Linked DNA regions of Homo sapiens: region 2 is linked to region 1. Evidence: promoter capture Hi-C in human tissues and cell types (Jung and others, 2019). All regions are on one chromosome and are shown on one strand. Each heading gives the region's core, a stretch centred on a gene start or on the middle of the fragment in contact. The rest is flanking DNA. Distances are from core to core; before and after follow the strand shown. Region 1 overlaps NOL4L (nucleolar protein 4 like). Region 2 holds the start of MAPRE1 (microtubule associated protein RP/EB family member 1).

Region 1 (2,700 bases), core at 155-2,654:
ATACAAAAAATTAGCCAGCTGTGGTGGCAGGCACCTGTAGTTCCAGCTACTCGGGAGGCTGAGGCAGAAGAATCACTTGAACCTGGGAGGCAGAGGTTGCAGTGAGCTGAGATCATGCCACTGTACTCCAGCTTGGGCAACAAGAGTGAAACTCTCTCAAAAAAAAAAAAGAAAGAAAGAAATTTCTTCCTTCCTTCACTCAAAAATCATTTCCGAGGTTCCTACTACATGCTGGAGGTCATTCCAAGCACGGAAGATACCACAGTGAATGAGACAGATAAGGTACCCATCCCTAGGAGCTCACAGGCCTGGAGATGATAAACAAGGCAATATAAAAAAATATGCAAAAGGAGGAAATTTGGGGTAGATAATTAAAATAGAGTAAGATGACAGACTGTGCCTCAGGGCAAGAAGGCCTCTCTGAAGAGGCAGCATCCGAGCCAAGGCCTGAATGGTGAGAAGTGGCCAGCCCTGCAGAGATGAAGTGGGAGGGCTTTCCAGGCACAGGAGACAGCACATGCAAAGACCCTGGGGTAGGAACAGCAGTGGGGCTCAGATAGAGGAGTAAGGGGGAGCTATGCCTGGGAGCCGTCTTCAAAGGCAGCTCTCCCAGGGCCTGCCAGCCGGGTGCACATGTGTTGTGATGTGAAGCCTAGTGGTGATCTTTCTCTGCCAGAGGGAAGCAGGGCAGGGACCTGGGCCTGTCTCAGGTCGAAAGTGGAGATGAGCACCTGAGAGGGAGTCCAGCGACTCTGGTTCTAGGTGTGCCTCTGCCCCACGAGTCATCTAACTTCTTTTATTGGGGTGCAGTGATATGATCACAGCTCACTGCAGCCTTGACCTCCTGAGCTCAAGCAATTCTCCCACCTCAGCCTCCTGAGTAGCTGGGACCACAGGTGCTCAACACCGCGCCCAGCTAATGTTTGTATTTTTTGTAGGGATGGGGTCTCGCCATGTTGCCCAGGCTGGTCTTGAACTCCTGGGCTTAAGCATTCCCCCACCTCAGCCTCCCCAAAGTGCTGGGACGTGAGCCACTGCGCCCCAGCCATCTAACTTCTTCATGCTGCAGCTTCCCTGTTACTAGATCAGCAGGTTTGGGTCAGACATCTGTGGCTTTCAAATTTTACATTTTGATGGAGGAACCCCTTTCTTCAAGGGACTGTCTTCTGGGGAGGAAGTTGAGTGGGTCAGGGGTCAGCAGCAGACAGGCATGTTGCTGGCAATGCTGGGCACGGAGCCCAGAGCCCGCCTACCTACCCCTTTCGTCCCCAGCAGCCCATCTGCCTCTCCTGCACCACCTCAGGAATAGGCCCGGGCAGCCCTGAGCTTTGGCTTGCGGTGCCGAAGATAGTCAAGGAGAGGGGCTCGATCCAGCACAACCACAAGCAGCCTCCTCGACAGATATGAGTCACAGAGCCCATGCCCTGCCAGCCCCATGGTCATTCTAAGGCTCTGGCATTTAGAATGGCTCTAAATACCTCAAGAGATAAGATAGAAACAGAAGATGTTCTTTAACTGGGATACTCCTGTGGCTGAGGAAGTGCCCAGGCACACTTGTGCTGCAGCCGTGACAGTTTTCCCTCCTTCAGAGTCCACAAGTGAGGGAACTAAATGCTTGTCTGCTCCCCAGGCACCACAGTACGCACAGCAGGTGCCTGGACGTAGCGTAGCACCCCTGTGTCCTCTTCAAAGAGTCAAGAGGCTCCTGTGTCCTCTTGAAAGAGAAAAGGCCACATGGGAGTGGGGGATCCTTGCCATCTAGTCCACCCGCGGACAGGAGCCATGTGAATAAGCCAGGAATGCTTTTGACTACAGGCCCCCAAACCCAGTTGACTATAGCAAAACATGAAGTTATTTTACTCCTAAAACAAGAAGAATGGAGGAGCCGCCGCTGGTGCCATTTGCAATGTTGGGTTGGTGTCTCTGTGATGTTATTGAGGCTTTTCCTCATGGTTGCAAGTTGCCTGCTATTGCTCCAACCTTGTCCACATTCGAGGCATTGTGTTGATGTCTCATTGCTGCAAAAGGGTCACGTGGTTCCCAGTTGTAAGGGAGGCTGGGAAAGAAAGAATTTCATGTTTCTACCCTCTGTGGTTGAAAAAGATAAGGGAGAATGTTGATTCAGGGCATAATATCAAGAAAACTGGTTCACAGTCTCTGCCACAGCCTGGGCACCATCAACTAAACTTTGACAATCACTTTGGGTGTTAAGATGCCGAAGGCTTGGGCAGAGAAAAAGAATGGAAAAGAAAGGAAACGGGGAAAGTGGGGAGGAAGAAGAGAGGAGAGGGAGGTAGGCAGGGGAGCAGGAACAGCAATTGTTGGGGGCCTTCTGTGTGCTGGGTACCCCCAGACACAGAACTCAGTTCCTCAGCACACAGGGAAACTGAGGCTCGGCTTTAGAGAGCTTAAGTAATTTGTTTGTGTGTGTGTGTGTGTTGTGTGTTTTTTTTTTTTTTTTTTTTTTTTTTTTTCCCGAGATTATCTCACTCTGTGGCCCAGGCTGGAGTGCAGTGGCATGATCTCAGCTCACTGCAAGCTCCACCTCCTGGGTTCAAATGATTCTCCTGTCTCAGCCTCCCAAGTAGCTAGGATTACAGGCATGTGCCACCACACCCAGCTAATTTTTGTATTTTTAGTAGAGACCAGGTTTCACCATGTTGGTCAGACTGGTCTTGAACTCCTGACCTCAGGTGATCC
Region 2 (2,700 bases), core at 136-2,635, 320 kb before region 1:
TGTAAAATGAAAGTAATCTCTCTTGCCAGGCGCGGTGGCTCACACCTGTAATCCCAACACTTTGGAGGCCGAGGCGGACAGATCACTTGAGGTCAGGAGTTCGACAACAGCCTGGCCAACATGGCGAAACCTCGTCTCTACTAAAAAATACAACAATTAGCCGGGCTTGGTGGCGCGCGCCTGTAATCCCGACTACTCGGGAGGCTGAGGCACGAGAATCGCTTGAACCCGGGAGGCGGAGGTTGCAGTGAGCGATGGTGCCACTGCACGCCTGGGCAACAGAATAAAACTCTGTCTCAAAAAAAAAAAAAAAAGGAAGAAGAGAATCTCTCTTAAAGACAGTGTTAGTATTAAAAGACACAAAGCCACATGGAGCACTTAACAGTGCTTGACACAAAACAAGTGCCCAACTAACAAAGAGCTGCTATTATCATTACTACTGTTAGAGACATGCCATCGGAGAAGCGGATGCCCGGCCTAGCATAACCTCCCTCAATGGGCCCCAGGATCCTCATCCCCAAAATGGGGCAGAGGTCAAGCTCTGCCCTGCAGCATCCGAGGGCAACTGTGAAGTAGGGACTGAACTAGCACTGTTGATACCATCCCGTTATACTGTCCTCCTGCTCATCATAATGTGGATTCCTGGAGAGCAAATCTTTGTTCCCGGGAAAACAGCCAGGGTTTAGCACGGTGCCCAACACCTAGTGGGCATTCAATAAACACACACTGAAGAAAGGAGGGAGTCCAAGAGCTGGCTTACTTTCTGCCATACATCGCGCTAAGAGTTTAATGTGGGTAGTATTACTGTCCCCGTTTTACAGATGAGGAAGCTGAGATCCACAGCGGTTAAAGCACCTGTCCAAGGTCACACCGCACGGAACCCAACCCAGGTCTGACTCCACCACCCGATCTCTCGGCCCTCAGGCAACACGGCCTCCCACAATGTGCGTCCCCAGAGCTCCCAGGACGGCCCACCTCGCCCACACCCTCCCAGGGCCCAACCACCCTGGGACCTCCAGTCGCTGCAGCGCAGGGACCACACCTCAGCGGCGGCCCAGAAACCCCCACCCCGCGTAGCAGCAGCCCACTTCCGGCCCGAGACCCCGCCCCCTGAGCAGAGCGCAGCGCGCGCCCCCAGGCCCAGCCCGCGCGCGCCGGGTGACGGCCCCGCCCTTCCCCCACCCGGCTCGAACAGCACCGCCGTGTGGAACGGCCCTGGCGCTGCCCGTAGGGCCTGCCCGCGCACGCCCGGCCTTGGCCCACGCGGCCGCCCCCCCAGCCGCACCCCCCGGGCCCGCTAGCCGGCTCACCGGCTCTCGGCAGAACCGCGTCCACTGCCCGCAACCGGCTCCGGTTCCGTCTTCGTCTCGTTCAAACCGCCAGACCCCGCCCGCCCGCCCGCGCGATGACCTCACACGCACCCCCTCGTTACGCGCCGACGTAAAGGCTCGCCATCCTCCGCCGGCTCCTTTTATAGAGAGGGTCTCAGCCGCGCGCCGGGGGCGGAGCTCGGCCCCTGATCCACAGAACGGTAGCCGAGGGGCGGGGCCCCGACCGCCGGGGCGACTGCGGCACGTGGTCGGTCGCAGCCAATGAGGTCCCGCCTCGGCCCGGTGTGACTCAGTTACAAAATCCCTATGGCAGTAACCAAAAAGAAAATTGCTTTTACAATGAATTTTTTTTTTTTTTTGCTTAGAGATGTATGGAGGTCTCGCTGTGTTGCCCAGGGTGGTCTCGAACTCTTGGCCTCAAGCGATCCTCCCGCCTTAGCCTCCCAAAGCGCTGGGATAACAGGCGTGAGCCACCGCTCCCAGGCTTACAATTAATTTCTGTAAGAATGGGTTATTGAATCATAAAGATACCTAATAGACACTTTGGGGAAACGCTTAGAAGTCAACTTTCTGGGCCGGGTGCAGTGGCTCACGCCTTTAATCCCAGCACTTTGGGAGGCCCAGGTGGGAGGATCACCTGAGGTCAGGAGTTTGAGACCAGCCTGGCCAACATAGTGAAACCCCATCTCTACTAAAAATACAAAAATTAGCCTGGCGTGGTGGTGGGCGCCTGTAATTCCAGCTACTTGGGAAGCTGAGGCAGGAGAATCACTTGAACCCAGGAGACGGAGGTGGCAGTGAGGCGAGACTGCACCACTGCACTCCAGTCTGGGCGACAGAGCAAGACTCTGTCTCAAAAAAAAAAAAAAAAAGTCACGTTCTGTGACGCCCCCGCCCCCCCATCTGCAATATCATGCGGCATATTTTCTTCTTAGTACCATAAGAAGGCATCTTGTGCCTTTACTGTCTGTCTCCTGTAAAGTCCACAGGAGCAAGGACCTCCTGAGTCCTGTTCCGGGTTGTTTCCCAATGGCTGTACATACATTCTCTCTTGCCCACTCCCTCTTTTTTTTTTTTTTTTTTTTAAGAGATGGGGTCTTGCCATGTTGCCCAGGCTGGGCTGGTCTCCTGGGCTCGAGAGATCCACCCGCATCGGCCTCCCAAAGTGCTGGGATTACAGGCGTGAGCCACCACACCTGGCCCTTACATTCTCAAGAGAGCCTTGGCTGAAGGAGGAACTGGGCTGGGCGTGGTGGCTCACACCTGTAATCCCAACACTTTGGGAGGCCAAGGCGGATGAATTACCTGAGGTCAGGAGTTGGAAACCAGCCTGTCCAACATGGCGAAACCCCATCTCTACTAAAAATGC

The links. The method cuts DNA at HindIII sites, captures the fragments that hold promoters and counts their contacts. A contact is called where the count stands out against the background at its distance.
Region 2: the fragment with the promoter of MAPRE1 here is called in contact with a fragment that was not itself captured in region 1 in 1 of the 25 tissues and cell types used here (lymphoblastoid cells).

Annotation. Positions count from the first base shown.
Region 1 is chr20:32,494,028-32,496,727 of GRCh38, reverse strand. All of the region lies in intron 4 of NOL4L (nucleolar protein 4 like), which reads left to right. Among named protein-coding and RNA genes, the nearest start is that of NOL4L-AS1, 66 kb to the left of the region's middle. The HindIII fragment of the contact is 4,356 bases long and covers 1-2,700 here.
Region 2 is chr20:32,818,639-32,821,338 of GRCh38, reverse strand. It overlaps MAPRE1 (microtubule associated protein RP/EB family member 1), which reads right to left and starts at 1,385. Exons shown (of 7, transcript NM_012325.3): 1 at 1,311-1,385. RefSeq lists enhancers at 1-336, 337-1,006 and a silencer at 1,079-1,668. The HindIII fragment of the contact is 10,810 bases long and covers 1-2,700 here.